7 separate regions of the Homo sapiens genome follow, and all the other regions are linked to region 3. Evidence: promoter capture Hi-C in 16 types of primary human blood cells and fetal thymus (Javierre and others, 2016). All regions are on one chromosome and are shown on one strand. Each heading gives the region's core, a stretch centred on a gene start or on the middle of the fragment in contact. The rest is flanking DNA. Distances are from core to core; before and after follow the strand shown.

Region 1 (3,620 bases), core at 252-2,751, 1.6 Mb before region 3:
TTGGGAGGCTGAGGCAGGCAGATCTCAAGGTCAGGAGTTCCAGACCAGCCTGACCAATATGGTAAAACCCCGTCTCTACTAAATTACAAAAATTAGCCAGGCATGGTGGCACACACCTGTAATCCCAGCTACTCAGGAGGCTAAGGCAGAAGAATCACTTGAACCTGAGAGGCAGAGGTTACAGTGAGCCGAGATCACACCACTGCACTCTAGCCTGGATGACAGAGCGAGACTCCATCTCAAAAAAAAACAAAAAAAACAAAAAGAAATTAGATTTCTTCTTGGTTATGTTCCTGCATTGGAGTAAACTTCTAGAAGTTATAAGCTTCTAAATAATAAGCATATAATTTACAAAAATTAAATTTCAGTAGAAGTGAAGCTATTAAAATTATAAAGACAGTTATCACTTGTGGTTGTCTCTTCTTGGTTATGTTCCTCCATTGGAGTAAACTTCTAGGGGTTAATTAAGGCATTTTGTTAAGGATGTTCATTTCAGATTTATCCAGTGTAGTTAGTATTCTTAACAAAAGTAAATGCAATGGCAATGTCATCTTCTTAGAAAATGCACGCACTTATTTTGATAAAAGTTTTGTACATTAAGAGAACTATTTATGCTGTTGTTTTTCCTATTTCATTCAGTCTTTGACTTAGAAGATATCTTATCCTGCCGTTGTAATGGCAGCTGAACTGCGAATGATACTTTATGAAGATGATTCAGTACAAGTACAATATGTTGATGGTTCCACATTGCAACTTTCTCCCTGTGGCTCTGAATTTTTATTTGAAAAGTCACCACCTGTTTCAGCACATCCTTTAGAACAACCAGAAAGAATTCGTCAAAGGACACATTTTGTCATTAGCACTTACAGAGTAAGTAAAGATATCACGTAAACAACTTTTTTGTTTTTTAGAGACAGGTTCTTGCTCTGTCACCCAGGCTGGAGTACAGTGGCACTACCATAGCTCACTGCAGCCTCGAACACCTAGGCTCAAGTGATTCTCCTGCCTCAGCCTCCTTTTACAAGGGAGTTACTCTAGGACTACAGGTGTGCACTACCACATCTGGCTAATTTTTAAATTTTTTGTAGAGCATTGTCTAGCTATGTTGCACAAACTGGTTCTCACACTCCTGGCCTCAAGTAATCCTCCCATCTTGGCCTCCCATTATGCCAGGATTACAGGAGTGAACCACCGTGCCTGGCCAAAACTACTCTTTGAATACCAAAATACTGTTGACGTGGCTAGAATATGAAAAGTAATTAGTATTATGGATTATACTGTACTGTCATTTTTAATTGATTTTCAAATCATTTTACATTAAGGTTACATTTTATATTTCTTTTCATAGGAGCAACTACAGCGAGCCCTAGATTTTCGAAACTCTTCAGCTACTTGCCCTTTTTTATCTGAAACCATCATACCTTCTGAAAGAAAAAAGGTGATTTTTTTAACTTCATTTTTGTTAGTATTATTTGAGGACAAGTAACTAGAAACAGGTAATTTAATATTTAGCCTTTTTTTCCTTTTCAGGACACCTGGGGATACATTGCTATAAAACATCAAAGTTACATAGTGTATCCCCCTTGCCATTTTCTTTGTATCCAAGCATTATAATCAGAATTTTTAGATTGGTGACTTTTTCATTCTCAGAGGTCTCAAAATTAAGTAATTATGTGACCATTTTCAGTAACAGCGTATTTGTTAATGTATAGTAGAAATATGTAACTATGGGTATGACCTTTATTATTTTGCTTATATAGTATTGTGTTTGGACTTTTAGGAATAATAACTGTCATTTACTGAGGGTTTACTATGTCCAACAACTATGAACAATATTAGAAATATTTAATAACACCATACTGATCAAAATGGATGTCCATCCAATCAAAACAGGTATATTGGCTAGATGGCAGCCTCTTTTTTTTTTTTTTTTTTCTGAGACGGAGTCTCACACTGTCGCCAGGGCTGGAGTGCAGTGGCACGATCTCGGCTCACTGCAACCTCCACCTCCCAGGTTGACGCCATTCTCCTGCCTCAGCCTCCCGAGTAGCTGGGGCTACAGGCACCCGCCACCACACCCGGCTAATTTCTTGCATTTTTAGTAGAGACGGGGTTTCATCATGTTAGCCAGCATGGTCTCGATCTCCTGACCTCGTGATCCGCCCGCCTCAGCCTCCCAAAGTGCTGGGATTACAGGCGTGAGCCACCGCGCCCGGCCGGCAGCCTCTTTTTATAGGCAAGGAAATTATGTCTTAGAGAGTTTACCTAATTTGTCTATGGCAGTTTTCTCAGTGGCAAAGTCAGGATTTGAACCTAGTCTATCTGACTCTGTAAACTCTGTTTCTCAACTACTTTCTGCTACCTTTCTATGCTGTCAAGATGCTTGCCTGCCGGCTGAGTAATTTTATATTGTCTCGTGGCAAAGGAGCCATAAAAAATTATAAGTTGTAACTTAGCCTAGAATGGTAATTTTCCATTGTGTCTTTTGAGTCACTTTATTCACTGAAACTGCCTAGCTTGTTGCTGATGCTGCAGCAGGATTATTAGATAGTCTAATTCTAAAAGAGGAGTTTGATGACCATCCTTACAAACCAGCTTTGCTGTCAGTAAATACAGCCCTCAATTTTAGTGTCCTAACATCGTACATATAGATAGCATGGTAAATTTAGGAAGCTTTCTTGACAATAGTTTGTGTAAACGTAAGATTTTACATAAATGGAATTGAAATGCTAAATGCTTGGCAAAATTAATTCAGTAAAAACCTCTCACGCAATATCTACTGTTTATATCTTATATGAAAAGTCACAATCAACACTGTTACTTGTTATGAGTCTTTTATTAGTCAGAATCAATTTTTCTTTGAGTAATTAAACTTTTTTAAAGTTTCCTCTAAGCCTCCTGAAATTTATTTTAGTGTATGGTGTGCCAGGTACTACCTAGGATGGGTACTTTTTACATGTTACCTTATTTGGTTCATGTGATAACCCTGCAAGACAGAATTTCCCAAATGCTGTTCAGTAATTCTAGTACTAGTTTAAATAATTTTCTCTTTTCCCTCTTGCTCTGAAAAACTTATGTTATCTCATGTAAATTTTAAGATATGATTGAGTTTGTTTTTGAATTTTCTGAGTTGTTCTGTCAATAATTTTTATGGTAGTCCTGTACCATTTAAGCTATGGTTGCTTTTTTTTTTATTTAAAACTTAAAGAAAAATTTTTAGCTATGATTGCTTTTAATATAATGTATCATAGTGTTGGTCTTCCCTTATTTCTAGTTTTTTTTCAGAGTAAACTTTTGCAGGGTGAGGGGAGGGATACAAATCTGTTTAATTCATTGTACATTTAAAACCAAAATACATTTAACACTAAATATGACCATTTCTCTCATTTTGTGTCTGTTTTACATCTCTTTTTTTTAAGGGTGATAATCTTAACAATATCAAACATTCTCTGGAAAATCATATATAGGCTGAGATCTGGCCCTCCATTTTTTCATTCTCTGTAGATAGTAAAACACAAATATTTAAGAGCTTTCTTACACAATACTTAAATATCAAATATATGGAAAAATTGGACTGTTAACAGAAAATACTCACCGTCTCTTTTCCCCTCTCCTTGCAG
Region 2 (4,074 bases), core at 1,210-3,709, 1.6 Mb before region 3:
TTTATTTATATGTTAGGTTTCTAAAACTTAGTTGTAGATTCACATGCAATTGTAAGAAATAATACAGAGAGAACTTGTTTACTCTTCACCTTGTTTCCCCCAATAGTAACATCTTGTATAACTATAAGTGATACAGTTCACCAACCTTAGTTTTATATGCACATGTGTGTATGTGTGTGTATGTGTGCACACTTATTTCTATGCAATGTTATCACATGTATAGACTTATGTGACCATCATTATAGTAAAGAACAAAATAGTTCCATCACAAGGTTTTTCTCATGCTACCTACTTTTTTAATAACCCCATCTACTTGCCTCTAAATTCCACTCCCTCCTTAACCCCTGGCAACCACAAATCTGCTCTCCATCTTCATAATTTTGTCATAAATTGAATCATACAATTGCTCTTGAGATTGAAATTTTGTGTTCAGCATAATTCCCTTGAGATCCATCAACATTCTTATATGAGCAGTTGTTCCTTTTTTTTGCTGAGTAGCATTCTGTGGTATGAATGTACCACAGTTTAACTATTCATCAAAGGATATTTGGGTTCTTTCTAATTTGGGGCTCTTATTAATGATGCCACTCTAAATATTTGGGTACAGGATTTTATGTGAATATAAATCTTAATTCTCTGTGAGAAATGTCCAGCAGTGCAATTGCTAGGTAGTACAGTACTTAATATGTAGAGTTTTTTAAAGAAACTGTTTTCTAAAGTGACTATAGCATTTTACATTCTCACCAGCAATGTATGAGCAACACAGTTCCTAGTTTCTCTACATCCTTGAATTTGCATTGTCACTATTGTTTATTTAAGCTATTCGAATAAGTAGGTAGTGAAATCTCAGTGGTTTTAAAAAAATTTTCCTACTGGCTAATTATGTTGAACATTTTTCATAGGCTTATGCTATCTGTATATTCCCTTCAGTGAAGTGTTCTTTCATTTATGTTTGGCCCTTTTCTAACTGAACTGTCCTTTTACAGTTGAGTTAGGTGTTTTGTTTGTTTGGGTTTTTTTCAGACGGAGTCACGCTCAACCCAGGCTGGAGTGCAGTGGTGCAATCTCGGCTCACTGCAACCTCTGCCTCCCGGGTTCAAGCGATTCCCCTGCCTCAGCCTCCCAAGTAGCTGGGATTACAAGCACGCATCACCATGCCTGCTAATTTTTGTATTTTTAGTAGAGACGGGGTTTCACATGTTGTCCAGGTTGGTCTCGAACTCCTGACCTCAGGTAATCTGTCCGCCTCAGCCTCCCATAGTGCTGGGATCGCACCTGGCTATAGTACTCTCAATACAGTTGAGTTCTGAGAGTACTTTATATATTCTAGATACAAGTCTTTTGTCAAATATGTGGTGCCTTCATCCATTTTTGTTGCTATAAAGGAATAGCTGAGGCTGGGTAATTTATAAAGAAAAGGGTTTCATTTGGCTCACTATTCTGCAGGCTGTACTAGAAGCATGGCACCAACATCTGCTTCTGGTGAGGGCTTCAGCCTGCTTCTATGCATGGCAGAAAGTGAAGGGGAGACAGTGTGCAGAGATTACATGGCAAGAGAGGAAGCATGAGACAGGGGGAGTGTGCCAGGCTCTTTTCAACAACCAGCTCTTGGGGAAACTCCTTGGGAACTAGTAAAACCATAACTCATTCGTTACTGTGAGAATGGCACCATGCCATTCATGAGGAATCTGCCACCATGACCCAAACGCCTTCCATTAGGCCCCACCTCCAACATTCAGGATCAAGTTTCAACAGGAGGCTTGGAGGGTCAAATATACAAACTATACCATGTGGTTTGCAAATATTTCCTCTTGCATATTTATGAAAATTTTCTCCTGTTAGCTGGCCTTGAAGGCTGTACTGTCTACTCCCATAAGGTCTAATGATGATCCTGAGGTCAATAAGTTCTAAAAAAACAGTCTTTTTTTTTTTTTTTTTTTTTTTACCATCACTAGACTGGTGACCTAAGGAAAGGCAGGACCATTGCAGGTGAGTCCTATTTCTGTTAAAAGCTTATTATGGACTAAGTACTGGGTTGGACCTAAAGGATTAAAAGGCATCCTCTGTCTTCAGAGGGCTAGTTTAGGGAAGGAGACATTTAAATAAACCAAATACTAACGATAACAATCTGGCATGCTAAGTACCAAGACAGTTTTCCCAGGGTATACTTATCACAAGGGAGAGAATCTAAGATTAGGCAGCTTGGGAAGTCTTACTGGAGAATGCCTTTCAAGTACAGTTTAAGGAAACATTTTTTTCATAGTTCACAGCAGGTCCTTTTCCATATTACAACATATTTTCCAATTTGTCCAAATTTAGTTCTACTCTCCTTTCACCATAAATTAATAAAAAAGGCATACACGTGGATGAGGAGCACTTTGATGATTCTCTTTAGGGAGTTCCACATGGTGTTCACACGTTCATGTGTTTCTGTCTATGCATTTTGCAATACCTGCCAGTTAGCTCTAAAACAGTCCCAAGATGGATCTGAGCCCTTGCGGTATCTTGGCACCTTTTATGTAAAGTGAAAATATTGGAATGTCTATCTCACAGGATATGAGGATAAAATAAAATGATAAAATAAAAGCTCTTAAAAGGTGACTGACGCATAATAAATATTAGATATTTTTATTATCATGATGCAAAATCCATTCGTGTTATCTCCAAGTCCACCATCCACACATTATAAGAATAGGGCAAAAGTTATACAGTAACAAATACAGAGAAGGCAAAGGATATCTTACCTAATTTTCCTAACAAGAGGGTGTGAAGATGTCGTGACATCACCATGGATGCAGAATGGCCTTATCTTCACATGGGAAAGTCCCAGTTGTTAGAAAAGGTGCTGTTCATCATAAAAGTTTTAAGGGGAAATGAAAAGGTGGTGAGTGCAAACAAAAGCTTGGGGCAGAGTTGGGGCATCTACTTCAGTGGAACATAACTCATTGTTAGTTTTTTAGCATAGTTTATGGGTCTTTCCTGTATGATAAAAAAGTCCAGGCAAGAAGTGACTGGTGACCACATACAATAATGAATTTGAAAATATTAAAATTGTAATTTTTAAATTGTAATCTTGTCTCTGCAATATATGCTGAGTGTTACCACACAGTTATTATTTTACAGATGAGGAAAGTGAGGCTCAGAGAAGCTAAACCCCTTACTTACTCAAAATCACACAGACAGCAATAGTCAAGAGTGGAATCCCAACTAAGCTCTGGCAGACTGAATCCTAAACTTTCCGTACACCGAAGAGCCACACGTACTGCTGGCTTCCTTCCCTGACTTCATTATTTTGCCTAACATCAATAGCATGAACCATTTATTCATGATTGCCCTCGGTGAAGCCATTTTCTCATTCGTTTAGGGGAAGACATTGTTTTCTTTATTAATGAGAAGAGAAAACGGTTAACAAGAGTTTGTGTCCCTAATTGAAATGATTCTTAAGATGAAAAGATAGAAAAACATGAAACCCTGCTTAAAACAAAAGGCTAAAATCAGAATTTATGGAGATGGATCAATCCAACAGTAAAGAAATCAATTTTTCCTTCCTTGTCGTTACTTATATTCATCTATCCTTTATTTGGCATTAATACTGTCAGGCCTGACAAAAACAACAATTTACATATTAATAAAATCTAGAATTGTGCTGTGCAACGCAGTAGCCACTAGCCACATGTGGCTCTTGAGCCCTTGAAATGTGCCAATCCCGACTAAGATGTGCCATAAGTGTAAAATATACACTGGATTTCAACTAGTATCTAAAAAACAGAGAAAATATTTAATATTTTAAATCGCATGTTAAAAAACCATTTTGAACATAATGGATTAAATAAATTTAAATTAATTTCACCTGGTTTTTGTTTTGTTTTGTTTTGTTTTTTGAGACAGAGTTTGGCTCTTGTTGCCCAGGCTGGAGTGCAACGGTACGATCTCGGCTCACTGCAACCTCTGCCTCCTGCGTTCAAGCGATTCTCCTGCCTCAGCCTCCAGAATAGCTAGGATTACAGGCATGTGCCACCACGCCCGGCTAACTTTGTATTTTTAGTAGAGACGGGGTTTCTCCATGTTGGTCTG
Region 3 (3,519 bases), core at 825-3,324:
AATCCACGCAACAAATCAGTAGCAGGGTCAGGATTAACTTGGATATTGACTAGTAATACAGGAAAATTTAATAGCTTCTTTTTAATTCATAAAACTAGATACTTACACTGCCATGTAGTCAAAAAATGCACCATCAGTGACCTCAGATATAGGCTTTTTTAAGATTTCTAGATCTGGAAGAGACTTCCAGTCAACAGAAGACCAAGAAGGAAGATCCCTCAACAAAAAGTATCTCCACAGAATTGGATCTCTTACAGTTTCATTCCAATAATGATTTGTACTTCCCAACTGACACAGATCATGAGGTGAAAGAAAGGACAAAATATATAGCTGTACATCAATCTGAAACAGAAGAAAGCAGCAGGTAGGAAAAAGGAATGAAGAAAATAGTTTTTGGGTGATAAACCACATAATCAACAAATAAATAACAAAAGGTCAACTGACTAGTATTTTTAATAACTAAATCTACCATTAATAATTAAATCTATTATTTTCCTGCTATCAGCAAAGGATCATAACTGAACATTTTAGTTTCGTAGTTGTTAAACATTTAATTTCTGAAACACCTGAAACATTCCTGAAAAAGCAACCACTGTCTTGCTATTTTTCCAGCAAAATCACCAGTTCCTTTAATTTTTCCTCAGAGATATTTGGATATACCAGTTAGTTACATAAATTAGTTAAGGAAATAATTTGTCCTTCAAAATAAAACCCATATCAACCTTTATCTGATTTTATCATCAGACCAAATCAAAGAGTGTACATTTGTCTTTTTCTTTTTTGAGACACAGTCTCGCTCTGTCGCCCAGGCTGGAGTGCAGTGGCAAGATCTCGGCTCACTGCAAGCTCCGTCTCCCAGGTTCACGCCATGCTCCTGCCTCAGCCTCCCAAGTAGCTGGGACTACAGGCGCCTGCCACCAAGCCCGGCTAATTTTTTATATTTTTAGTAGAGACGGGGTTTCACCGTGTTAGCCAGGATGGTCTTGATCTCCTGACCTCGTGATCCGCCCACCTGGGTCTCCCAAAGTGCTGGGATTACAGGCGTGAGCCACCGCGCCCGGCCGTAAATTTGTCATCTTAGTTCCTCTACAGAATCTATTAAAATGTTATGAAAAACCTCTGCAAGGAGAAACTTGGAGGCATTCTAAACCTGCAGCTTTCACGTTGATATACACATTGGAGAGAGGTGTCAATAGTCCAAATGAGACAAAGAATTGTAATAATTTTCAATAATTTTTGTTCTCTTCATTTACCTATCTACCCCAAAGTTTAACAATAAGTTATGTGTGTCATTCTCGTGGCCTTGATGTAACTTGAGGCACTTGTAACTTAAGTCATTTATTTTCAACTGAGGGGCCGTTTTGTTTCTTCAAATACACAATAACAGCCACAGGCACAATGTCCTCTTGAGAGGGTAAAAACCTTGGCCCTCCAAGTGTTTTGGTACAGTGATCCGGAATCAAAGACGCTGGGAACAGGGACGCTGGAATGCTTTCCCAAGCTAATCAGCAAGTTGGGAACTGTCTCATTTCCGTAACCGGACATTCAGGGTGTCCTAGTCACATGTGCCTGTTTTGGCGGGTGGAAAACCTGAGGGCGATCGGGAGGGTCCCCAGGGGCCCCATGAAGGTGCTTCCCTGAGATGTTCGGGCCCCCTGCGGAGCACCAGGGTCCACGCCAAGACGCTTCTGATCAACTGTAGCTTCTCGGTGACTACACTGCCAGGAATGGCTGCATGGACGGAGCCAGACCCAGGCCGGGGCGCGAGAGTTCCCCAGGCCCCGGGGGGCTCCAGGGGAGGTCCCTCCGGCCCGGGCCGGCCCCACTGTCCTCCGCGGCCTGCGGCCGACGCTCACCGGCAGCCGCGTCAGGGTGCTGGCCGCCTCATCCACCTCCTCCCGTGAGGTCGTACGCGCCACCCTCTCCTTGCTCACTGACTGCCAGAAGGTCTTCCAGCCGCTGAGGATGGCCGCCTCCAGGCGGCCCCAGTCGCTGAAGGGCGGCGGCGGCGAGTTTGTTCCGCTGCGCGGCTCGCTTCCCGCCATGGCTTGCCCGCAGCGTGGGTGACGCGTCTTAGAGCCACGCTAGCGCGTCAGCCTCCTGCGCAGCTCCGCGCCAGCCGAGGGCGCCCTCGGGCGTTCCGCCTCCCGCTTCTCCCGCGAGTCCGCCTCCAGGGCAGGGTTAGGCCCAGGGGCAAGGGCGGGTACTGGGAGGAAGCCCACTGTGCGTGGCTGTGAGCCGAGTACGAAGCTCCTGTCAACAATTAACTTCCCCAGTAACTTGTGGCCTCAACCTCAGCCACGCCAACCGCAGAGCCCCTGTACAACCTCTGGCCCGCTGACTTCCTGGCTTCATTCAAGATGTTCTCTCCGGGATCATTTCCACTATGCCTGGTCCTAGGCGACTCCGCTTGTTCGATAGACCTCTGCCACTGTCTTGGGCTTAATAACCACTTGCTTCCTTTTCAGCACTACCATACTACGTATGGGGTGTTTTTTGTGTGTGTTATTTCCTCAATCACCAAGTTACCATTTATTTTCTTGAGTATCAGCAAAAACAGACTAGAGAGGCAGTCAGCGGGCCAATTACAAAGAACCTTTTGCCAAAATGAGAAGTCTGGACCCACTATGCAAAAATATAAGCACATTTAAAATTTGCAAGGGCGGCAAAAAACGGCTAGAAGAACCCAGATGTGGTGGTGTTGAAATCCCACTAGTGAGTTTTTTAATTCTCAAACCAGATGCCCATTCTACTTACTTTGGGCTTACTTTAAAAGTGCTTTAAGAGAACGTATTACAAGTTAATCTGTTACATAGAACTGGGTATGTATACATTCAAAAAGTAAATCTCTGAGGATCTAAATGTCAACAGAATCCAAGAAAGCCTGATAACTAAGGTTCTGCAAGGCTCTGTAACATACAAGTTTAAGTTTCATTACATTTTATTATTTGCATGTTGTTGGTAGGGGCCAATAACCAATAAAATTGCAGCCTCGTTTTTGGGAGGCAATCTGGACAAGGACCACGGATTAACCATATGGCATTTCTCATCACTTTCTAGGACACGATTTACTTTGAGAGCAAAAAACGAACTAGAGCAAGAAAAAAAATCAGTTCAAGTATAAAGTATTAAAATGATATCTGTTAAATGAATGAGAAAAACTTTATTACGGAAAATTTTGAACATTTATAAAAGGAGAGTGAATAATATGCTCCTGTGTGCCCAGTATCCAAGATTCCATTACCAACACCTGGTTAATCTTGTGCTGTTGCTATACTCACCTAATACTACACCCCCAATTCTGGATCCTTTTGAAACAAATCCCAGACCTATCATCTGTAAATATCTCAGTATCCGTCCCTAAAAAAAACAGATTTTAAGAAACAGACCACTGTACCTAAGCAATTTTAATTCATTAAAATCACCAAATACCGAGTCAGTGTTTAACTTCCCCATCTGCTTTGAAAATAATTTTTCACATTTGATTTGTTTGAATCATAGCCCAACAAGGGTCACACA
Region 4 (3,714 bases), core at 197-2,696, 1.7 Mb before region 3:
AACCATTTGAAGTTTAGGAGTTTTTGTAGTCACAAATGCTTAAAAATAGTTTTTAATAATTAGAGTTCTAATCTATCAGAAGCAAAAAGGATGAAACATTTACAAGACTATAATATAACATTTGGATCTGCTTTAAAGCCTAAAAACCAGAGAGGTGCCCAGTAGCCAAAAATCAAAACATAGGCTGAACCTGAGAAGACATGTAATCAAAAACTGACCTCTAGTGATGGCTTGTTACCAAAACCCACCATCTAGGTAAAATCAGGCTACAGAAAAGGTAGCTTTAATGTCTTTTCATTGTGGTTATTATGTTACATGGTTATTGGCAATTTATTGTCTCAGCTTCCCTTTTATAAATAATTATTAGTAAAGTGAACAGCCCCAGAGAGATGGGATTCTTAGATTTCAGTGTGTCTAACAATGCAGACACTCGACAGGTTTTAAGGGAACCATCACTAACCTTAATCTTAGCCCTCTTCTCCCAGGCTGACCAATCAAGAGTGTTTGATTTTAGGAAATAAATGTTAACTGACTAAATGAGCTGATGCTAATCAACATTAACTGGAAGAAAAAAGAGAACTGATATTAAAGAGCCAGCACAAAGTTCAACAATTGGCATTTGTTTAAGCTACATAAGTAAAACCAGTTTGCATTTGAAATTTCTGTGAGCATTTAAAAAACTAGCTCATGGCATACTACTGTGAATATTGTCCTTTGCATATTCATGTAAGTACCAATTACAAAAACCTATGGGTTTTTAAATCAATATAAAAAATTGGCCGGGCGCGGTGGCTCATGCCTGTAATCCCAGCACTTTGTGGCCAAGGCAGGCGGATTGCCTGAGGTCAGGAGTTCGAGACCAGCCTGGCCAATAGGGTGAAACCCCATCTCTACTAAAAATACAAAAATTAGCTGGGCATGGTGGCAGGTGCCTGAAACCTGAAACCCCAGCTACTTGGGAGGCTGAGGCAGGACAATCACTTGAATTCAGGAGGTGGAGGTTGCAGTGAGCCAAGATCACATTGCACTCCAGCCTGAGTGACTAGAGTGAAACTCCATCTCAAAAAAAAAAAAAATTATCTGTGTAATCATAGTTTAGGGGGTCTGGGAAGCTGGTGAGGAATAGAAGCTATGTTAGTTTCCTACGGCTGCTGTAAGAAATTACCACAAACTGGGTGGCTGAAAACAACAGAAATCATTTCTATCACAGTTCTGGAGGTCAGAAGCCCAAAATGAAGGGGTTGGCAGGGTGGATTCTTTCTGGAAGCATTGAGGGAGAAACCATCCCATGCCTCTGCCAGAGCTTCTGTTGGTTGTTGGCAGTCCTTGGTGTTCCTTGGCTTATAAATGCAGCCAATCTCTGCCTCCATCTTCACATTGCCTTCTTCTCTATGTGCCTGTGTCCAAACCTCCCTCTCCTCTCTCTTATAAAGATACCAGTCAGTGGTCTTAAGGACCACCCTAAGTCCAGGATGGTTTCTGTCTTGAGATCCTTGACTAATTACATCTACGAAGCCTGTATTTCCAAATAAAGGCGGACACAGATACTTTGAGGGGGAACACTATTCAGCCCACTACATGGGCATTCTGTGTGTTTAAGGGTAACACACTGTAAAGAGGGTTTTGGGGGTCTTTGGGGGGAAGTTTCTTTGTTTTTTGAAGAGGGATGGATTTGCCAGTTATTGAGTTTAAAGTGAAAATCCAAATTATTTGAGGGAAATTCAGGTGAAAGTCATTTTGTATTAATAATTGGGGAAAAATTTCCTTAGTTATATACCCGGTTTACTGGTTTAATAAGCACTCAACCTAATTGAACTTTTCCTGCAATTTCTATATATCATATATTTATCACCATTATCAAACTACTTGATTATAAAACCCCATAATAGTACTTGATAAAAGAACTTCAGCCAAATTAAATTTAAAGGAGTTTAATTGAGCAATGAACCATTCATGAATCGGGCAGCCCCCAGAATCACAGCAGATTCACAGAGACTCCAGGGGTGTCTTGTGGTCAGAACAAATTTATAGACAAAAAAGGTAAAGTGAGGTACAGGAATTGGAAATGAGGTACAGAAACAGTGAGATTGGTTACAGCTCAGCATTTGCCTTATTTGAATGCAGTTTGAACATTCAGTAGTCTATGAGTGGTTGAAGTATGGCTGCTGGGATTGGCCACCACTCAGCTCCTGTTACAGGTGCATAGTTATTAAGTCAGGTTTTCAATTTTGCTTATTAAGTTAGATTACAGTTCATCCACAAAGACTCAAATATAGAAGTACGGAGTCTTTCTCAGGCCATATTTAGTTTGCTTTAACACGCTTAACATTTTTATAATACTTCACTTTTTAAATTTTGCATTTGATTAAAAGTTCTAATTTAATATAAGTTTTGCAAAGCATCATCTCTTTGAAGATCTTTTTTTATGCTACATGTTACCCATAATAGAAAAATAAAAACCAGAATATCTCACCTCCACTGGTTCGTTATACTCTCCTATCTCCTCTCCTCCTACCATTTATTATCAATTCTTTCTTTTTCTTTTTCTTTTCTTTTTTTTTTTTTGAAACAGTCTCACTCTGTAGCCCAGGCTGCAGTGCAGTGGGGTGACTTCAGCTCACTGCAACCTCTGCCTCATGGGTTCAAGTGATTCTCCTGCCTCAGCCTCCCAAGTAGCTGGGATTACAGGTGACCACCACCACACCTGGCTGATTTTGTATTTTTGATAGATGGGGTTTCACCATGTTGGACAGGCTGGTCTTGAACTCCTGGCCTCCAGTGATCTGCCTGCCTCAGACTCCCAAAGTAGCTGGGATTACAAGTGTGCGCCACCACACCCAGCTCATTCTCAATTATTTTACCACTTAAATGTGCACGTTTCTAATGTTCCCTTGGCCCTCTCTGCTATTAACTCTAATACTTTCTCTGTGTACAATGTTACTTGTGCTAGGACCACTCCCAAAGCTCAATCTCTAGCCCAGACCTCTCTCCTAAGCTCCAGACTCTTGCAGCCAACTGCCTGCTGGTCATTGCCCTTGAGATATCCACAAACATTTCAAGCCAAACATGAGAAAATTCTCTACTACCCTCCTTTTAGCTGTAGCAAAACACTGGATGTTTCTTGAATGTATGGAGCAATTCCATACTTCCTTGCCTTTCGCATGCTTTTCCTTCAGTCTAGAATGCTCTCCCTGCTCTACCTTTTCTTTGCAAGCTTATGTTCATCCTCTAAGGTGTAGCTTTTGTCTCTTCCTCTGTGAAGTATTCTAGGAAGCCTTGTTCAACTCTTATTTCCTCAAGCTTAGCACAGTGTTGGCACATAACAAATGCTAAATAAAAGTTAGCTAGATCAATAAGCAGCAGCCACTGTGGAAGAAGACTGGACTGAATCCTGAGTCTGGCTGAATACCCTTGGGATAGTTCAACTATAAAAAATATGGAGACAATAACTATTTAACAGGCCATTGTGAAGAGGAGAAGAGAATTTATGTAAAGAATATAGCCCAGAGTCTAGCCCATCATAGGTTTTAAAAAATGCATCTGACTTTTGGCAAGGGTGCGAAAGCAATTCAATGAAGGAAAGATAGTCTTTTCAACAAATGGTACTAATACAGTTGGACATCTGTAGTCAAACAAAAATGAACCTCAACCTAAGTCTCACAGATTTTTACAGTAAAGTCAGGATGGAATACACAGTTACGTGTAAAACCATAA
Region 5 (3,952 bases), core at 336-2,835, 1.6 Mb before region 3:
CTCGGCTCACCACAACCTCCGCCTCCTGGGTTCAAGCGATTCTCCTGCCTCAGCCTCCTGAGTAGCTGGGATTACAGGCATGTGCCACCATGCCCGGCTAATTTTTGTATTTTTAGTAGAGATGGGGTTTCTCCATGTTGGTCAGGCTTGTCTTGAACTCCCGACCTCAGGTGATCTGCCCACCTTGGCCTCCCAAAGTGCTGAGATTACAGGCATGAGCCACCATGCCCGGCCTTCAGGTCAGCTTTAATCATTTCATTTGTATTCAAGTAACTTTTCAAAATGAAATGTGTTATAGACATACTGATTTGCTGTGGAGGTTGGATATGGTCAGCTGTGTTAACAATTAACTAATCCTCTAGCCAATTTGAAATAAGATTTGCAACCACAAATAACTGAAATTCTGTATATTTCTATAAAGTGGATAAAATTACGCAATGATTATCTTAAAATGGGGAAGAGTCTTCAGCTTTTTATGAATTTTTTTTCTTTTGGTTTATCTAATTTATTACAGTAAATCTTGTGATAGTCTTCACATTTTAGTGATTTCACTTGAGAATATTCACAAAATAATAGCTTTTTGTTACCTCTTGAATGTATTTTTCTGTTGGGTTTTATTGTGTTTCAGTCTAAGTGCTCATTCATTGCTATTAATGATTTGCCTCAAAAAAGATAGTTTCTTTAGCAAACATTTCTATTGATTCAGCCAATCATTTCAGATCATTCATTTTATTAAACTTGATACTTGTTTTAGATATGTAGTAAGTTACATATAATTACACATATGCATACAAGCATATGTGTATATGCATTAGCAGGTGTTTTTTGGTTTAAATTTTAGTAAGCAAATGCTCAGTCAGTCTTATTTTGTGTGAATATTTTTTGATAAAACTTAAACGCATTTTACTTTGAAAAACTAAAAGAATTAGAACATTTAAAATTGAACTTTAAATGAAATCCAAATATCGCCTTTATTTTGATTCTTAAATGTCACTTGTATTAATCACAAATATAAGTAAATCATTTTATTCTTGATGAATAATGGAAAAAATTTGGCTTTTCTATGACCAGTGAAAAATATTTTGAGAATTGCCCAGTAAATGCTTCACTTTAACATTTTTTCTTTATCCTTTTTTCCCAAATTGTCTTATTTTTACATTTGTTTATAATTTTATAATGTATTCAAGTTCATTTTTCAAGTATTTCTTTTAATGTATTCACTTTAGATATGTGACAACAGTAACATCATGGTGCAGGAGACTGACCCAGACTAGTCCCAGAGAGATGCCCACTCATTCGTCATCTTCTGTTCTCCAAGAAAATTGGTATTTTTCTTTTAAACTTAAATCTGTTTAGAAGAGCTAATACTTTAAAAAAAATTAAAATGTCAAATGGTAAACTGAGACTTTTTTCCCCAAAAAAACTTTCTTAGTTTTGAATATGTTTAACTCCTAAAGTATTTTTGATAGCTTAAGCTTGAAAATAATTTCTAATCAGACATCTAATTTATTACATTTCATCATATTCTATTTTACCTAAAGGTAAGAAAACCTTGCATTGAAAACTTAACATGAAAATGAGTGGCTCTTTTTATGTGACAAATTCATCCTGAAAACTTTATGGAAAAATTTAAAGGGGATTCTTAAATTTTTAGTAATGTTGAAGGAAATAAAAGGTTTAATAACATAAGCTTTCAGAAAACATTGATTTTTAAATAATTTCTGTCATATTAGTTACTTCTCCCAAATTAACTGGCAGATCAAATAAAGCAAGTATTTTAGTCCCTCCTGTGTGCTTTTCAGTGTGCAGGGTACTAGAACTGGGCTTCAAGGGAACTTTCTGTGAAAATATAAGACATTTTAGGGAGGAAATAAGGGCAGAAGTAAAAAGGATATTTTAGCCTGTGGAGATAGAAGATAGTTTTTATGGAACATATGCTATCTATTAGTATATAGTATGAGTTTTGAGGGCTAGGAATGGATCTTATAATAAATAGGAGTTCAGACCTGATGGAATTAGAAAGTCCTAAATGGAAAAATGATAGGAAGAAAGGTCATTAGAAGATTAGTGTCACTGAGAGTCTAACCTGAATATATGGGAAGACAGGGATACCAGGAACAATTTGGGAAGCTTTTTAAGTAAGTTTTGTGAGGTGACCTAACATAGTGTAGTGAAACAAAATGTAAACATTAAGCCAATTTTTGTTACCTTTTCCTAAGCCCTTTCTTAGAACAAATCAAATCATATCAGTAAGCGTTATTTGAATATCTCAGGTAGCTTAAGGATCCAGCTTTGCAGATCCCTCATCCTTTAGCTGTAGCCTGTTTGGAAGCAGAAAAGTTGCTAAAGTAACTAGCAAAAAACAATTGTGATGGAAGGAAAATTGTACTTGTCTATAAAACCATCACTTCACCATTGCTTAGCTGGCAGTTTGTAAAATATCATCAGCCTTTTTATTTGAAAGCTGAGAAGAGGCTGTCAATACACACTAAAAACTGCAAGTAGAGATTGGTGATAGTAGCTAAAGGTGAAAGCAACTAGGAACAGCAGAGGCAAGATAAAGAAATTGAGGAGTAGCTCCATTCCCCCTATAAAGCCTTAGGTATCTCCACTTCGGTTTTTCTTATCAAAGAGGGTAGGTTGAAGGAAGAAACAAGATTGTACAATAAAAAGCTACCTAAGTTGTATTCTAGTATTTTTTTTCCGCCACACCCTCCATTATTAGCTTATTAATTCAACTTTTTAGTCAACAAATAGTACGTTTCATAAAAAGTTCGTTCATTATGAGAGCAATAACAATAAAGGTTGTATTGTTTCTTACATCCAGAAAAATGCGTTGGGTTTAAAAAAAAAAAGATATTTTGCAATAATGAACAATCAGCTGGTTGTTGGGGTAAGTTGTATCCAAGTTCTTTGCCACAGGTGTTTAAAATTATGAAATATTTCTTTTCATTCTCCATCCATAGGCTGGAGTACAAGGGAAAGAGTACAAGCTGACAGGGAGGTGCATGTGATCTGTTGTAGTAAAGCCAATAAAGCAGACAAGTCACACAACCTACTACGAACTGTGAAGATTTTTCTGGTGACTTGAATATTTTAGACTAATGTCTTCATTAATTTTGCAGAGAGCTAGTCAAGTTACAGTTTGTAGTTGTATGCCATTGCTCATATTTCATTCTAACTTGATAAGAAAAAGGATAAAGAACACACACTTAGGGGTTCTGCTGGAGACGTATATATTAGCCCTCTACTCCATACCAGTTGTCCCACTATCTTTCTATAGAACATGGTATAAGAGCTAATGTTCATCATGTTAACCCTCTGTGCTTAAAAAAACAATGAAATAAGTAGGTAGTCTATTCCAGAAAGAATTTAATAAAAAATAGTTGTTTTGACACGTAATTCAACTATTTAAAAACTTGGATCTCCCATACCATCCATTCCCAAAGAGTTCCATATAAATGAGGTCTTAATATATGCACAAGTACAGAAAAGTAAAAAATCCTTTCTTCTGAGAGAAACAATCTAGGTAGGAAGAGCAGGAAGTTAAATAGTTCAAGAGAAGATATTACAAATAAGTATGTGATTAATTAATATGCTATAGGAATTCAAGGAAGGAGAGAGCAGTTCTTTCACAGAAGGAATGGGATTTTAATAGGTTTGTAAAGTTTGCGTAAACTTTAGGGAGGAAAGTAGAGTGTAAGCTAGGTTAGTACTAAGAAGTAACAGGAAGGCCCATTATCCTCAAACATCAATATTTGATTACAAATTCCTTGAAGTGGATTTACAAGGGGTAGACTTTTATTCACTTACCTTTAAAGGCACTCAGTAAGTATCAGTTGAGTCAAGTTGATTTGTTGCTAAATAAAGGTAACATAAAGAGAATTCTTCTGCGTTCTTCCGTTTAAAATTCTAATGAAAAAAAAAGTCAGGTATGCTTATTTGAAATATC
Region 6 (3,756 bases), core at 1,178-3,677, 1.4 Mb before region 3:
GATTTTAGATAGCTTTTCTCAGAAGAAATAAACGCAAAAACCCGATATTGTTGTAACATCAGTTTCCTGTGTCCTCTAGAATCATTTAAAACCTGGTTGGATCTTCCATAATCCAGTGGAATTGGATATGAGATGTAGCTGGAGAAGTTTGTTTTGCTACATATCAGAATCTCCAATTAGTTTCATTTAGAAAGGAATATAGCCTTATAATTTTATGCTGGGTTACTGTGGAACCAAATATCATAGAAGGATGTGTGATATTTTTATGTTTTTCAAGAAGGTAGTATAGATTTAAAAGGTGGGATACATATTACCTGTCCTAATGATAGGACTAGATTTTTTTTTTTTTTTTTTTTTGGGGAGACAGAATCTCGCTCTGTCGCCCAAGCTGGAGTGCAGCAGCGTGATCTCGGCTCACTGCAACTTATGCCTCCCAGTGATTCTCCTGCCTCAGCCTCCCAAGTAGCTGGGACTACCGGCATGTGCCACCACACCCAGCTAATTTTTTTGTATTTTTAGAAGAGATGGGGTGTCACCATGTTGGTCAGACTGGTCTTGAACTCCTGACCTCAAATGATCCGTCCGCCTTGGCCTCCCAAAGTGCTGAGATTACAGGCGTGAGCCACCATGCCTGGCTAGAACTAGACTCTTAATCTCTTCATCCTAATGCATGGCGTGTGTTGATGTTCACTTAATGTCTGTCAACTGGGTGTAGTTACACCAGTAGCGGAGAGGCTAATCTTTGAAAGCCTGAAGTGTTGTCTTCATCTTTGCAGGGTTTTTAGTTGTGGGTGCATATGGGAATGATTGTAAGACCAACAAATGTTTTCTGATTCCATATGGGCTTCTTACATTTTTCACCTTGGAATCTGGGAACAATTGAAACCTACCATATGCCTTGAACAGTAGCAGTAAAGAGCCAGTTTCTTTAAACTAGACATTATGGTGCTGCAGCTCATCTCAAAACTGATAGCAGGCTACTCTGGACACACTACATATAGAGTAGCCCTGCTCTGCAAGGAGCAGTAATAAATTAAAAAAAAAATTAAAAAGTGATAGCAGAAAGCACTTACTACTGAGGGCTGCTACAAGTATTAAATCTAAAAGATTTGTCCTCTAGTAGTTATAACTCCAAATTCAGCCACTGAAAAATGTGACATTTGAGTACCCTTTACTTCAAGGTCTCAAAGGGATTTCAAAAAATCAAAATATATAGCCCCTCTCCCAAAAGAAGTGTAGGAATCCTGTATGGATAAGAAGACTGCCCATAACTAGTTTTCCATAGAGAGTAGGCTATGTAGACTTGGGTATGAATGACCTACCTCTGTAGAAGTGCAGGTCCCTGATTAGAAAACTTATTTTCTGTGTGATTTATCGAGGAAAGCTTCCAGGAAGAGGTGACTTAGAACAGGGCCTTGAAGATGAGTAGAATCTCTGATACGCAGACCAGTAACTCTGGGAGGAGGCAGGGATGTCCATGCTTTTTACTTGGAGAACTATACCAGAGTGTACAGGTTTGAGCAAGTCTTTCTTAACATTAGTTTTTACTTGCTTGCTCCTAAGGAGGAAAGGTTGCCAACTTGTTCTTAATTTCCTAGATTTATCTCCTGTAACAATGAGAAAGATCAATAGGTAACTGTTTATATTTTATAGTTTACATACCAAAATGTGTAGGCAATGAACTTCTCCAACCACTTCTTTGAATCAAGGCTAAGGAGGGAGCCAGAAGGAAGTATTCAGAACACTGAGTAAACTCCAGAAGAAACTACCATTGCATAAATCTGGTTGGCCCTAGGCAGTCTTATCATTCTTGTGTTTTAGTCTTTGCCAGACTCAAAGTGCCTATATTTCATCCCATGAGTCTGCAAACCTGCTTTGTGGTAACCTGCCTGGCTACTTGCCATTCATTAACTGCTTCTTGACCCATGTTGATTCCCTCTGTCACTTACTCTGAAAAGACCTGTTAGAAATAAGCTTGTGATCTGCTTGAGACTTTGGCAATACTGGTTTAGCCAGAATAGAGAAATCCTTAAGTAGCACAGCAATCCTTTCTGAATCTTCTATTTGTTTCTTCTTTGTTCTCTGTGTCTCTCCCACCTAACATCCCTCTCCAATTTAAGTAATCAAAATAGAAAGAGGGGCCCAGGCAAGGTGGCCCACGCCTATAATCCCAGCACTTTGGGAGGCCAAAGTGGGTGGATTGGTTTAGCCCAGGAGTTGGAGAACAGCCTGGGAAAGATGGCAAAACCCCATCTCTACAAAAAATACAAAAATCAGCTGTGTATTGTGGCATGTGCCTGTAGTCCCAGCTACTTGCGGGGTCTGAGACAGGAGGATCACTTGAGCCTGGGAGGTCGAGGTTACAGTGAGCAGTGACTGGAATGCTACTGCATTCCAGTCTGGGTGACAGAGGGAGACCCTGTCTCAAAAAAAAAAAAAAATTTGAGGGAATATAGGCAGTGCAAGGAAAGGCAGAATATAGGCAGTTCAAGGAAAATTTCCTTGATACAAGTAGTGTCAAATGCATATACATACATGAACATCAAGAAGAAATATTATTATTTAAGTAGTCTTAACATGGAGAAGGAATCTTGTTTTTCAAGAACTGGTCTCTGTGGTCTGCTTAATTTGCAGAAGACAAAGGCATAATTTGAGATAATAAAGAACAAAGATAGGTTATTTTCTCAAAGTATGTATAATTACAGTTAATTAGAGACATTTTTGGAATATTGTAGTATTCTTTGCCTACAAAACTCAAGATCTATTTCTTTTTATGGGGCAGGGGGGCGTAGGTGGGTAGTAAACTTAGTTAATGAAGTAAAAGGCGCTACGACTGAAGAGCTCTTAAATTATGTAATTATGTAAAAAAAGTAAAGCTTTATTAAATATTAATAACATCCGAATGTAGTTACCAGTGAATCCATTAAGGGCAGATGCTAAATTTGCCAGTAATTAAATAGAGAGCAGAGGAAATGGTGTATGCTGTGTTAAACATAGAAGTTGCCATCTCAAGTAACAATCAGTCTTTCAAAACAGATGGACTGAAGAATATGTTCCAGTCACCTTCGCAAATTATTTCTACTTAATTTACATAATAATGTTTAATGCTCCTTTGTCTAAATGCTTAATTTTTTAACATAAGCAGTAAGAGGGAAAATCACTTTATAAAAGGTTGGGAGGGTGAAGGTGGCAGTGTTGAAAATGATTAGGTCTTGCTAGAAAAAATACCTTTATTTTCTTTGAAAAACACTTATAAGAACTATAAGAACTAAGGTAATAGTCAGTGTATTGGTGCTTTGTGTTACAAAGTGTCTTCACATATTTTATCATCTCAGCAATCCTTCACAATGATCTGGGGAGGGCAACTGTATTAGCTTCATTTTATAGATGAGGAAACTGAGGTCCAGAATTGCTGCCAAAGCCACAATCTGTTACATGCAGTGCAGGCTCTTGACTGCATATATCTCTTTACTCTAGAAATTTGCTAACTCATTACAACTTGTTTATATTCCTTTCCCCCAATTCTTGAAAACCTTGGTTTAAAGCCTCAATTGGTGACATGGGCTTCTTATTTCCTTGAGGTTTTTTTGTTTATTCCTTCCTGCAATAGTAGGCTTCTTATATCCGTTTATTACCAGGACTGAACCTTTCACTATAAGGGCTATGAAAATAAGGGGGAAAATGTTCTATAAGCTTTAAGTATGATTTTTTCTAAGCAAATGTCAAATTCTATTCTGCATAATGTAATTGGATAAG
Region 7 (3,802 bases), core at 1,282-3,781, 1.7 Mb before region 3:
AGGCCAAGGCGGGCGGATCACAAGGTCAAGAGTTCGAGACCATCCTCGCCAACATGGTGAAACCCCGTCTCTACTAAAAATACAAAAAAATTAACCGGGCATGGTGGCCGGCGCCCATAGTCCCAGCTACTCAGGAGGCTGAGGCAGGAGAATGGCATGAACCCGGGAGGTGGAGCTTGCAGTGAGCCGAGATCATGCCACTGCACTCCAGTCTGGGTGACAGAGTGAGACTCCGTCTCAAAAAAAAAGAGCAGGAAGCACCAGTTAACCTGTAACCTACAGGTAGGTAAATGATCACATTTAAAGTCAGGTTTCCTGTACCTAGTGCTGTGGTTTGGATGTGCTTTGTTCCCACGAAAACTCATGTTGACATTTGATCCCAAATGTGGCAATATTGGGAGGTGGGGCCTAGTGGGAGGTGTTTGGGTCATGGGAGTGGATCTCCCATGAACAGATTAATGCCCTCCCTGGGAGTGGGGGGCTGAGTTCTCACTCTGGGGGTTAATAGAAGAGCCTGGCTCCCTCAGTTTCTCTCTCTTGATTCCTCTCTCACCATGTGATCTTTTTTGCACACGCCTGCTCCCTTTACACTGTCCACCATGAGTTGAAGCAGCCTTTAGGCCCTCACCAGATGCAGCTGCCAAATCTTGAATTCCAGCTACCAGAATTATGAGCCAAATAAACCTCTTTTTTAAAATAAATTACCCAGTCTCAGGTATTCTCTTTTAGTAACACAAAATGGACTAAGACACCTAGCCTCAGGGTTTCCATTGTTACTGAGTGTACATAGGATTGAAGGATCACAATATGACCTCCTATTCTTTCAGCAAGCCATCGTCACCTCTCATCGTTAACTGCTCCTCTCTGCTTTCAGTGTGGATTAAAGAAACTGGCACCATTTCTCTCTGCCAAATACTCTGATTACACCACCTCCCATTTCCTGTCTTCTTGATCCAAAAATTGACAAGAAGTGAAGAAACCAAAAATACCTTGTATATGTGCCAAAATGTTGCAAAAATTGAGAAACCCAGAATCTGCTGAATGGTATCTTGAAAGTTTTTTTTAAAAATTAATAATATATAGGCTACAGAGAACAAGTTATCCAAAATTCTTTTAAAAATTCAAATTAGTAAAGTCAAAAAACAGAAAAGACTAGAACTTTCAGAAAGTCAAAGTTCATTTTTTTCTAGCAATCTTAAACGTTAAGCTTTGAGGTTTCGTGAAATATTTATACACACCAAAAAGTCATCAGTGAGGTTAACATATAAAAATTTTTAAATAACTGTATTTTAAGACTATACATACCCTTTCCTTTAATCAATGCATATTATAAAGAAACATTAAAAGTTGTACCTACCTTAGCTGGAGGAACTTTTCCAGCAGCTGTGATCTGACCAGTAAAAAAACGTCCAAAATGATTTGCTGCTAGGACAACAGCCTTATAACTTTAAAAATAAATAAATAAATAAATAAATAATTCCATAAAAGGAGAGATCTCAGACTCACATATCATCATAAGTCATCAATGAAGTTTTGTCAAAGAATAATAGCTAATATTTATGTAGTATGTACTATGTGTCAAAAACAGTTCTAAGTGTTGTATATACACTTGCTCCTTTAATTTGCACAACAAGCCTATGGAAAGGTACAATTACTGTCTTCATCCCATAGGTGAGAAAACTGAGATACAGACTGAGAGACTTGCCTAAGGTCACTCAGCTAGTAAATGGTAGAGCCAGAAGTCTAACACAGGCAGTCTGCCTACAGAGGCACTCTCTTATCCATTATGCACCCACCCTCTTCATAACAAGTACTGTAGAACATAATAGAAAATGTAATGAAAGAAAGATAGGAAAATACTAACAATGGTTTTCTTTGGGTACTAGGACTATACATCCTTCACACTTACTTTACTATATAGTCCAAATATTGTTTGATGACTGGGTAGTGCTTAGGTAATGGGGGGAAAATCCTTAAAATAAAAAAAATTAGGTCAGCCATAGGCTTGTACAAAATAAGATTTCAACCTCGGAGAACAGAAGAAACACTTCCCTTGATCTCTAATGGTTCAAAGTATGGGATTTTCCGATATACTGACCTTAGTTCATGTCCTAGTTCTCTGACTGATTACCTTTGTGACCTTGGGCAAATTTTTAAAATTTTCTAAACCTTGGTTTCCTCATCTATAAAGTAAGGACAAAAAGCATCTATCTTTTAGGGTCGTGAGGACTAAATGAGATAACGCAGGTGAAACACTTCGCATAAAGCCTGTCACATAGAAAATGCTCAGTGAATATTAAGTGTTTTAGCCAAAGAAACAAACTATTTAATAAATCAAATAATATGCATCATCTTTTCTTTAACAGGATATTTTTAACATGCTACACTAATTTCATTTTCATAGCAATTTATATGTAAAAGGCACTTTTGCATTCTTACTTGGTAATATATACACTGGCTCAATATTATAAAGCAACTATTAAAACTCCCCTGCTAGGTGACAAGAAAATCTTCTCCCTGATCATATTTTTACATAATAATACTTGATACAATAATTGATGCAAAAACATATAAAGTCACCATTATTAAGTTAATCACACTGGAGCAAAAAACAATACTTTAGAGATTACAGTATCTGTTGCTCTCCTGAATTCAAATGACAGCAATTTTTAATGGGCAAATATGACAAAGATTCAAAGGCCACTGTAAGAAATTAATTGTGGAATTAATGCTCTAAAAGATTCAGTTGCTATTCTGAAAAATAAATAATAAAAGGAGATTACACAGGAAATGTACGAGGAAACATTGATAGTGAAAAAAGTAATAAATTGGACATTTTCTTCATGACAGCAAAAAAGTTCAGAATGAACAGTAATGAAGTGGAAGTAGCACATCTTCACTGTAATATGGCTGTGTGTATGAATGAGACGGATAATGATTTATCATACATTGTATGGATATGTATACTAGATGATTCCTTTCACACTATGCTCTCTGCATATATCAGCTCAGGACATAGAAGAGTGATTCCTCAAATTGTGATCCCTGGGTCCCTGAAGGTTTAAACTTCAGACAAATCTGGGGCCATAGTGGATGAGATGGAGAGTAGGAATGTTTCTGCACAATCCTGCCATACTCAGTGTACCCAAAGCTACTCAGCTCTTACTGGATTTATTTATATTGTCTCATAATATTTCATTTGCTCAAAAGATTCAACAGCTAAAACCACTTGATCTAGAGCGACTGGTTTTGATATTCTTTCACATATGTGTATTTCAGAATCAACAGCACCCTTAAAACTTTACATTATACATTTTCTAGATAAAATTTTAAGTCACACATTGCATAATATAACTCCCTTACAGGCTAAATAAATTTAAAAGTGTGCAGCTAAAACACAAAGTAGAATCTATGACATATTTCCTATGCTAAAATATAAAACCTAAGAAAACTTTCTGCTTAGGTGTCAGGCTATAGAAGGCTTTATTCATGTTAGTCATGTTAGTGTCTTTTTATGCACTGTTTTTTTAAAAAGGTTATTTTCTTTGTGCCTCATTAATATTAGCAAATTCTCAACTACTAATAGTTTTCATGATTAAAATCTAATTTAATTAGTTTCTTAGAGAAGTTGATTCATAAGCCTTATCCCATTTCCAGATTGTTCCCACCCTTTAAGGCAAAGTCAGCAGTACACTGCTTTCATGTAGCTATTCCTGTCCCTCACCCATGGCAGGCATGATTACTCAATCATAGCCACATTCCTCCAAGCAGAATGGGCCTTAGAATCCTTCTCAACATAGTA

Evidence for each region. Contacts are between HindIII fragments. The CHiCAGO score rates a contact against its expected background, and 5 or more counts as called.
Region 1: a contact is called between a fragment that was not itself captured here and the fragment with the promoter of FBXO4 in region 3, in 2 of 17 cell types (non-activated CD4 T cells and activated CD4 T cells). The highest score is 6.0, in non-activated CD4 T cells.
Region 2: a contact is called between a fragment that was not itself captured here and the fragment with the promoter of FBXO4 in region 3, in 6 of 17 cell types (non-activated CD4 T cells, activated CD4 T cells, naive B cells and 3 more). The highest score is 9.0, in non-activated CD4 T cells.
Region 4: a contact is called between a fragment that was not itself captured here and the fragment with the promoter of FBXO4 in region 3, in 4 of 17 cell types (naive CD8 T cells, total CD8 T cells, non-activated CD4 T cells and 1 more). The highest score is 7.7, in naive CD8 T cells.
Region 5: a contact is called between a fragment that was not itself captured here and the fragment with the promoter of FBXO4 in region 3, in 2 of 17 cell types (fetal thymus and total CD8 T cells). The highest score is 5.7, in fetal thymus.
Region 6: a fragment that was not itself captured here is called in contact with the fragment with the promoter of FBXO4 in region 3 in 3 of 17 cell types (total CD8 T cells, activated CD4 T cells and non-activated CD4 T cells); the score reaches 7.3 in total CD8 T cells.
Region 7: a contact is called between a fragment that was not itself captured here and the fragment with the promoter of FBXO4 in region 3, in 1 of 17 cell types (total CD4 T cells). The highest score is 5.4, in total CD4 T cells.

The regions. Positions count from the first base shown.
Region 1 is chr5:43,506,395-43,510,014 of GRCh38, reverse strand. It overlaps C5orf34 (chromosome 5 open reading frame 34), which reads left to right. Exons shown (of 13, transcript NM_198566.4): 2 at 640-870; 3 at 1,349-1,438. The coding sequence starts at 676. It overlaps LOC124900190 (a long non-coding RNA gene), which reads right to left and starts at 646. Exons shown (of 3, transcript XR_007058764.1): 1 at 1-646. C5orf34-AS1 (C5orf34 antisense RNA 1) reads right to left here. Exons shown (of 3, transcript XR_007058763.1): 3 at 2,818-3,620. The HindIII fragment of the contact is 2,348 bases long and covers 328-2,675 here.
Region 2 is chr5:43,557,931-43,562,004 of GRCh38, reverse strand. No RefSeq gene overlaps it. Among named protein-coding and RNA genes, the nearest start is that of PAIP1, 2.9 kb to the right of the region's middle. The HindIII fragment of the contact is 889 bases long and covers 2,015-2,903 here.
Region 3 is chr5:41,923,836-41,927,354 of GRCh38, reverse strand. FBXO4 (F-box protein 4) reads right to left here and starts at 2,074. Exons shown (of 7, transcript NM_012176.3): 1 at 1,857-2,074; 2 at 107-342. The coding sequence starts at 2,045. RefSeq lists a silencer at 1,637-1,816. The HindIII fragment of the contact is 6,278 bases long and covers 1-3,519 here.
Region 4 is chr5:43,597,394-43,601,107 of GRCh38, reverse strand. The region is part of intron 1 of NNT-AS1 (NNT antisense RNA 1); the gene reads left to right. Among named protein-coding and RNA genes, the nearest start is that of NNT, 3.9 kb to the left of the region's middle. The HindIII fragment of the contact is 3,540 bases long and covers 1-3,216 here.
Region 5 is chr5:43,488,004-43,491,955 of GRCh38, reverse strand. C5orf34 (chromosome 5 open reading frame 34) reads left to right here. Exons shown (of 13, transcript NM_198566.4): 11 at 1,227-1,325. C5orf34-AS1 (C5orf34 antisense RNA 1) reads right to left here. Exons shown (of 3, transcript XR_007058763.1): 2 at 3,814-3,912. Among named protein-coding and RNA genes, the nearest start is that of C5orf34-AS1, 6.1 kb to the right of the region's middle. RefSeq lists an enhancer at 2,974-3,143. The HindIII fragment of the contact is 215 bases long and covers 1,478-1,692 here.
Region 6 is chr5:43,307,924-43,311,679 of GRCh38, reverse strand. The region is part of intron 1 of HMGCS1 (3-hydroxy-3-methylglutaryl-CoA synthase 1); the gene reads left to right. Among named protein-coding and RNA genes, the nearest start is that of HMGCS1, 3.6 kb to the left of the region's middle. The HindIII fragment of the contact is 902 bases long and covers 1,977-2,878 here.
Region 7 is chr5:43,616,675-43,620,476 of GRCh38, reverse strand. It overlaps NNT (nicotinamide nucleotide transhydrogenase), which reads right to left. Exons shown (of 22, transcript NM_182977.3): 5 at 1,358-1,445. Among named protein-coding and RNA genes, the nearest start is that of NNT-AS1, 15 kb to the right of the region's middle. The HindIII fragment of the contact is 2,643 bases long and covers 1,210-3,802 here.